Linked DNA regions of Homo sapiens: region 2 is linked to region 1. Evidence: promoter capture Hi-C in 16 types of primary human blood cells and fetal thymus (Javierre and others, 2016). All regions are on one chromosome and are shown on one strand. The core of a region is centred on a gene start or on the middle of the fragment in contact, and the rest is flanking DNA. Distances in the headings are between cores, read along the strand shown. Region 1 holds the start of HSD17B3 (hydroxysteroid 17-beta dehydrogenase 3). Region 2 overlaps LOC107987101 (a long non-coding RNA gene).

Region 1 (4,201 bases), core at 1,161-3,660:
GAATTTAATTTTCCAAATTGGAAGTTCCTCTAGGTATCTGGTAGAAGCAAAACCACCTCCTCTATGGAGGAATACAGCTTCATCAGAAAACCTCACAGAGAAATTTCCAAGCAAAATGGGATGTGCACAGGTGAAAATTATCAAGCACACAAGGAAACAGGGCACCATGAGTGAGACCTACCAGAGAGAGGAGACAGCAACAGAAAGGCTGATGTAGGTACTGGAATTGTTAAAGCCAGATCATAAGACAATTATGCTGAGGTAAAGAAAGTCAAAATTAAAAATATCTGCATGGAGCAGAGAACCATAAGAAGAAAAGCCTCAGTTTTGCAAAAAAGAAAAGGAACTTTTAGAAATGAAGTTAAGGTCATTAAAATAAAAACCACAATGGGCTGACTTAACAATGATCAGACACACCTGAAGAGATAATCAATGACCATGAAGGACAGAGTGAGCAGGTCGAATTTCTGACTAATCAGAGTCCTGAAACCATCTCTAAATACAGAGAAGGGAAAGACCAAAAACCACATAGAAAAACGGGCAGGAGAGAGAAAATTCACAAAGAAAACAGTGAAAATAGCTCTTAGGCTTAAGAAAATCTCTCCAACCTGGCTGATAAGATAATTTAAACTTAAAACAACATTGGATGCTACTTCTTACCTACTGGGTGGCAAAAGTCCCAAAGCTTGACAACATGCTTTACTGCTAAGGCAGTGGGAAAACGAACATGCTCACGTGTTGTTGGCGTGAATGCAAAATGAAGGCAAATCTGACAATATCTAGCATAAAGACGTATGAATCTATGTTCTGGCCAGCAATTCTGCTTCTAGGGTGAGCGCAAGGCTGTTGATTGCAGCACAGAGTGAGCTGAGAGTGAGCACAGGCAGAAATGAGAGAAGGCCAAGGACTGATCCTGTGGCCTCTGCAGGGATGACTTCAGTATCCTGGCTGCCCTTGCTTCAGTTGTCACACCCACCCTCCATCCCACCCCCAGAAGGACATCTTCCCTCAGCATCCAGTGGCCTTTTAAAAGCATAATTCAGAGTATAGAACTCTGTTTCCTAAATCTGTGCAATGGCTTCTGGTTGCTCTGAAAGTCCACACTCACCCGTAGGGCATGGCTCCTCCCTCCTGCTCTGGCCTTTTCCTCCCTTACTCTCTGTGGCCAGTCCCTCTGCTGTGTTGTCCTAGTGTTTTTTTTTTTTTTGAGATGGAGTCTTGCTCTGTCGCCCAGACTGGAGTGCAGTGGCACAATCTCAGCTCACTGCAACTTCCACCTCCCAGGTTCAAGCGATTCTCCTGCCTCAGCCTCCGAAGTAGTTAAGATTACAGGCATGCTCCACCACACCCAGCTAATTATTGTATTTTTAGTAGGTCTCAATCTCCTGACCTTGTGATCCGCCTGCCTCGGCCTCCCAAAGTGCTGGGATTACAGGCGTGAGCCACCATGCCTGTCCTGTCCTAGTTCTTATTCCTCAAATACGTGGATTTTTCTCACTTCAGGCATTGTACTAGCCGTTCCATTAGCCTGGAGGGGGAAACTCATCTTTGCGGAGCTGGCTCCTTTTCATTCAAATTTCAACTAAAAATGCCACCTCTTCATGGAATTCCTTCCTGAACACCCTCTCTGAAGCATTCCCTGAGTAGCTACTCAAACACATCATTCAATAGTGCTTTTTCATAGCACTGATGTTATCTTTTTTTTTTTTTTGAGACAGAATCTCACTCTGTCACCCAGGCTGGAGTGCAATGGCGTGATCTTGGCTCACTGCAACCTCCGCCTCCCAAGTTCAAGTGATTCTCCTGCCTCAGCCTCCCAAGTAGCTGGGATTACAGGTGCCCACCACCAGGCCTGGCTAATTTTTGTATTTTAAGTAGAGATGAGGTTTCACCATGTTGGCCAGGCTGGTCTTGAACTCTTGACTTCATGTGACCCGCCTGCCTTGGCTTCCCAAAATGTTGGGATTATGGGCGTGAGCCACTGCCCCATCTGATGTTATCTTATTTATCTGCTCATCATCTGTCCCTGCTACCAGAATCTAAGCTCCAAACCAGAGAGACCCTCTGTGGTCACTATTAACTTCCTAATGCCTTCAAGAGGGGACTCCACCTGGTAGGCAGTCAATACATAGTGCTAAATGTATGAATAATTGCCTTGGATTCTGCATCCTTTTTAACTTTCCCAAATTCAGGGAGAGAACTGTGGGCTGCCATTTTATATTTGTCCAGGCTTTGTTTTTTTCCCTTCATGTCCACCTTTTACTTTTTCACCAGCTCCTCCACAGTAACAAAAGCCTTATTCAAAGGCCTGTGAGTCAGAGGATTATGTAAAGAAGTTACTTTAATCTAGATGCCCCTGACTTGATGGAACACGTCCAGTGACTCCTGGAAGAAGATCTGGAGGTCTCCAGAGCAGCGTGGTCCCAGGAGGCATACACAGAGAGCCACGGCCAGGGCTGAAACAGTCTGTTGAGTGCAGCCATGGGGGACGTCCTGGAACAGTTCTTCATCCTCACAGGGCTGCTGGTGTGCCTGGCCTGCCTGGCGAAGTGCGTGAGATTCTCCAGATGTGTTTTACTGAACTACTGGAAAGTTTTGCCAAAGTCTTTCTTGCGGTCAATGGGACAGTGGGCAGGTAAGGGAGTGTTCCATCTCATGTTTTTTTGCTGCTGTTGTTCCTGCTTGTTACTATTATTATTATTTTTGAGACAGACACTTGCTCTGTCACCCAGGCTGGAGTGCAATGGCGCGATCTTGGCTCACTGCAACCTCCGCTTCCCGGGTTTAAGCAATTCTCCTGCCTCAGCCTCCCAAGTAGCTGGGATTATAGGCGCCTGTCACCACACCTGGCTAATGGTGTTTTTTTTTTTTTTTTGAGACAGAGTCTCACTCTGTTGCCCGGGCTGGAGTGCAGTAGTGCGATCTCTGCTCACTGCAACCTCTGCCTCCTGGGTTCAAGCAATTCTCCTGCCTCGGCCTCCCAAGTAGCTGGGATTACAGGCACACACTACTACGGCTGGCTAATTTTTTGTATTTTAGTAGAGACAGGGTTCCCCCATGTTGGCCAGGCTGGTCTCGAACTCCTGACCTCATGATTTGCCCACTTTAGCCTCTCAAAGTGCTGAGATTACAGGCGTGAGCCACCGCACCCAGCCAACGTTTTGTATTTTTAGTAGAGACAGGGTTTCACCCTGTTGGCTAGGCTGGTCTCAAACTCTTGACCTTGTGATTCACCCGACTCGGCCTCCCCAACGGCTGGGATGACAGGCGTGAGCCACCGCACCCAGCCCCTGCTTATTATTATTTATGTCTCAAAAGGGATATTGCATTTTTTTCTCTTTGAGAGCAAAGAAGTAATTCCTTTGGGTAATTTTAATTGGGGGGATTAGAAAAGTGTGAGTGAAATTAGAATGGTCTGCAACACAAGCTGTAGGGCATTAGGGGAACACTAGGGCAGAAGGCTACCCAGCCCTTGCTAAGCACTTATCCTCTCAACCCCATTAGATGAGTTTTCTTCTTTTGGGAGTTTCCTGCTAATACAAATAATAAATAATGCAGAAATTTCTGCATCCTCATCTCTAAATTTACAAAAAGCCCAGGGTGCTTTCACTTTACTAAAAGGTGTTTCCAAATTTTGAAATCTAAATAATTTTAACTCATTGTATTAAAAAAAGGATCCAAGTGTTTTTAAGAAATGAAGGTGTTACAAAATCAAGGCAACGCATAACTCTATGGAGCCATGTTTTCAGGATGGTATGGAATGGAATCTGGGTCTGGCTGGTGTCAATTAATGCTGCCTCCCCATGGGATTTATCTACTGGAACGCCCATGCAGAACTTCAGCCCTATGACTGAAGTTAAGGTGAAGAGCATGAGGCCATGGTTTCAGCATCTCCTTGAATATCTGAAATGCTAAAGTCTTTGCAGGGCCTTATATTTCAAATTTGGACACACACACACACACACACACACACACACAAAGAATCCAATGACAAAAATGATTAAGTGACTTTAGAGATATTATCTAGGCAAAATAGGAAAGATTCTAATATGCTTATAGGGCTGCCAGATAAAATACAGGATACCCAGTTAAATTTAAATTTCAGAAAAAAAGGAATACTTTTTTAGTATAACTCACATATGGCATGAGACATGCATTAAACAATTCATAATTTACCTTAATTTCAAATTTAAGTGGGCAT
Region 2 (4,201 bases), core at 680-3,179, 1.6 Mb after region 1:
AGAGCCAGGAGCTGCCTAGAAGAGGATGGGGATGGCAGGTAGGGACAATGTGGTATCTAAGGATGAAGCTGAGGCAGAGAGGAACTAGTGTCCGGGAGTTCTTGTTTGGATTGCTAGATCAAACCTTACCTGAGGCCAATATCTGTCTGTAGAGATTTCTATTGTGTAAGCCAAGAAACTTCCTTTGTTGTTTAAGCCAGGTCAAATTGGCTTCTCTGCTGCTTATGATAAAATAGCCTTAAATGGGCCGGGTGCGGTGGCTCACGCCTGTAATCTCAGCACATTGGGAGGCTGAGGTGGGCGGATCACGAGGTCAGGAGATCGAGACCTTCCTGGCTAACATGGTGAAACCCCGTCTCCACAAAAAATACAAAAAAAAAAAATTAGCCAAATGTGGTGGCGGACGCCTGTAGTCCCAACTACTTGGGAGTCTGAGGCAGGAGAATGGCGTGAACCTGGGAGGCGGAGCTTGCAGTGAGCCGAGATCGCGCCACTGCACTCCAGCCTGGGTGACAGAGCAAGACTCTGCCTCACCAAAAAAAAAAAAAAAAAAAAAATCCCTAAATGATATAAGTCCCTTGTTAAGAACATTCTATGGCTCCCCACTGTCTATAAAAAAAAGTTAATGGACATAAATATCTCCTTGATGGTGGTGATTGCTTCATAGGGGTATACTTATGCCCAAACTTATCGAGATGTATACATTAAGTAGACACAGCTTTTTATATGTCAATCATACCTCAATAAAGTGATTTTGTTTTTTTTTTAAAGACAAGTTTAAATTCCTTAGCTTACCACCTAAGACAGTGTACAAGTGAAACATGGGTAACCTTCTTCTTCTCATCAAACTAGTCTTTAGCTGTTCCCTCTGGCTTGTCCCTTTTCTCTGCTTATCCCTCCTTAAATTTTACATTTTCCACTATCTGAATTTCACATCATTCCTGATCTTTCCAAACAATACTTATCTCTCTTGACCTCTGTTTCCCTTCACATTCTTCTTCCAATTATAATTTAAACTCCTGTCTTTTCTTTGCCCTTTTCGAAGACTGTCATGTATTCTGAATTACTTTAATGTATATTTAACCTGTCTTCTTGAGAACAGGTCTTACAGGCTTCTGATCAATGTCTAGCTCATAGCATCTAGAACTATGCCTTATACATAGTAGGTATTAGAAACACATGCTGAGTAGTTGGCAATAGTAGTGTTTTTTGATCAATGTCAACACAAATGCTTATGTCTGGTTAAGGATCAGGACTCAGAGACTACCTAGACACATGCAAACAACAAACCAGAGGGGATCGACTAAATAGTTTTCACTTGAGAAGGCAATGGGCTACTCCACTATAAGAAAACCATCTGTATGAAAGAATCTTGGTGAGTGGACTGTAATCTAACTCTTCAAATCCCAGGGCTCATGGAAAAAAATGAAGTAAACTTATTTGACTAATATATCTCTATTGTGAAAGCACACTGGAGCTTGCTTAATCATAAGCAGGTATCAAGTGGCCATATAATATAGCCCTGTGATTCAAGAGCTGCCTGTGGCCAAACAGGCCTGCCAAGAAGCTGTGCAATTTGGTGGTCCCAATTCCCAGTTCTATGTAAAGCCTCTGGGTGACTGGCCAATCAAGAGGCCCATAGACCAAGTAGCCTGCAGAGCAGCTATGCAGAGCCTTCATGCCATCATTTCCCGCATCACTTCCCGCCTACCTTCCCTCTGGCTTCACAGAGTCTGTTTACAAAGAGAAGTGAATGCCCATATTCTGCTTGGCCTGCAGTGTAGGTGTTATTGTAACTCTTTAAAGCTTTATGACATTCAGTGGTGTACTTCCCTCGCATTCCTGAGTGACCCATGTCACGGTGGAAACAGGCTGTCCTTAGCATTTCACAGGCTGCACACTTAATGACATCATTCTGTGAGATGAAGGGAGAGCTCTAAGAAAAACCTAATTTGGCCTGCTGCAGCAACAGTTGCCTTAATTAGTCTCGATTTTTAATGCAATAAAAGGAATCAAGGTAAAGGTGGCTGGCCAGGAAAATTAATAAGCTTTCAGGTACACTTGGTTACTATGATTTTTCTGTTAGTAGAAAACGTTAAGCTGCTGTTTTGCTCTCTGTCTTGAGAACACAGGTTACAAGAAAAAAGAAAGGTACACACAGACATTGTTAAAAAGGCATTAGTCCGGGCAGGGTGGCTCATGCCTGTAATCCCAGCACTTTGGGAGCCCAAGGTGGGCGGATCACGAGGTCAGTAGTTCGACACCAGCCTGGCCAACATGGTGAAACCCTGTCTCTACTAAAAATACAAAAATTAGCTGGTCATGATGGCGGGTGCCTGTAATCCCAGCTACTCAGGAGGCTGAGGCAGGAGAATCATTTCAACCCCGGAGGGGGAGGTTGCAGTGAGCCAAGATCATGCCATTGCACTCCAGCCTGGGCAACAGGGTGAGACTCCATCTCAAAAAAAAAACAAAAAAAAAAAGCATTAAGATGAACTATCTGGTACTATCTGCCATCTTGGCATCTTATTCATTCCAGAGGGCATAAGCTCTTTTTCTCTGAATTGGTTCTTTCCCCTCCTTGCTAAGAGCCTTATAATATTATGAAACACAAAAATGTAATATGGAGCTGGACTGGGTTCACTCCTCACTATAGAGCTGCATTAACTACATTGGCATCCCTCTTAAGCAATCTTTAAGCAAAGAGGCATTTGGGACATCAGTAGAAGAAGGGACATTTTCCCTGTGCGTGGGCTCTATTCTTCTGAGTAAATAGATGCTTTAAAACCAGCCAAGTCTCCATTTGGTGCATCTGAGTAGGAGTTTGATATTTGCACTGAGAAATATTGAATTCCTAGAACACCAAGAGGTGATTCAAGAATTTTCTTTCAAGCCAGTTAGACTTTAAATAAAAATTATTTACATATTCATGAGCAGATATATTTCTCTAGTGTGTGCTAAGCATGAAAAAAAGAGCATCAACCATCAAGTTTACCTTTGCTATGGGCATGTCTTGTGATACACCAGAAACTTAGGTGATACAGTTTTGAAAAAAAAAAAGGATTCCATGTAAGATCCTCAGGAGGAATAACTACCCCGATCTTTCACACCTGTGGAGTTAGACCAACCATAGCCCTGATAAGGTCTCTGACGTGTTGTGATCTATGAATTGAAGTCCATGCTGGAAGTTATCAAATCACTTGCTAGTTAGGGGGCCTGGCCAGCCACCAGCATTCACATTCAAAGCAACTTTATCGCCCTCTTCCTCAGATAAGACAACTCTTACAACTTGTTAAAGACATTCCTCTAGAAAAATGGCAACGTCTCTCCTCCCCCAGCTCTCACCTCCAAAAAGGCAACGAATACTACCCATGGAAATGAAAGCACAGATGAAAAGATCTAACAGAGGAGTGGTGTTTATGCTCAGGCTCTCTCGAACATCAAGGTTGCTATGGTTGTGTGACCTTCAGCAAGCCACTCCACCAATCTAAGCCTTGCTCTGTCCTTTCTTCCCTCATTCCATCATTTCTTTGTCCCCTCACATACTTAGTATTTATAGACCACCCACTATGTGTCAGGCCCTGGCCTAGGAGCTCTGGATATAACAGTGAACTAAGCCAAGTCCCTGCCCTTGTGCAGCTTATGTTCTGGTGAGCAGAGGGAGAAGGAAGACAGACAACAGGCCATAGCATCTGGTCATTTGTAGTCAATTCACTGGGACAAATCAAGCAACTTTATTCTTATTTAATGGACAAGGCTTTATATTCCATTATAGTAAAATAAGGACTCTATGCCTATTGGTTAACCTTTATAAAATATTGCAAAGGGGCTGGGCACAGTGGCTCACGTCTGTAATCCCAGCACGTTGGGAAGCCGAGGCAAGCAGATCACTTGAGGTCACGAGTTCAAGACCAGTCTGGCCAACATGGCGAAACCCCATCTCTACCAAAAATACAAAAATTATGTGATGGGATGTGATGGTGAATGCCTATAATCCCAGCTACTTGGGAGGCTGAGGCAGGAGAATCACTTGAACCTGGAGGCGGAGGTTGCAGTGAGCTGAGATCTCACCACTGCACTCTTGCCTGGGCAACAGAGAGAGACTCCGTTTAAAAAACAAAAATAGGCCAGGCGCGGTGGCTCACACCTGTAATCCTAGCACTTTGCAAGGCCGAGGGGGTGGATCACGAGGTCAGGAGAT

Evidence for each region. The method cuts DNA at HindIII sites, captures the fragments that hold promoters and counts their contacts. A CHiCAGO score of 5 or more calls a contact.
Region 2: a fragment that was not itself captured here is called in contact with the fragment with the promoter of HSD17B3 in region 1 in 1 of 17 cell types (total CD8 T cells); the score reaches 5.8 in total CD8 T cells.

The regions. Positions count from the first base shown.
Region 1 is chr9:96,300,385-96,304,585 of GRCh38, reverse strand. HSD17B3 (hydroxysteroid 17-beta dehydrogenase 3) reads left to right here and starts at 2,410. Exons shown (of 11, transcript NM_000197.2): 1 at 2,410-2,635. The coding sequence starts at 2,482. It overlaps SLC35D2-HSD17B3 (SLC35D2-HSD17B3 readthrough), which reads left to right. Exons shown (of 26, transcript NR_182427.1): 16 at 2,275-2,635. The HindIII fragment of the contact is 6,593 bases long and covers 688-4,201 here.
Region 2 is chr9:94,695,778-94,699,978 of GRCh38, reverse strand. It overlaps LOC107987101 (a long non-coding RNA gene), which reads left to right. Exons shown (of 4, transcript XR_001746846.1): 1 at 1-38. Among named protein-coding and RNA genes, the nearest start is that of AOPEP, 29 kb to the left of the region's middle. The HindIII fragment of the contact is 242 bases long and covers 1,809-2,050 here.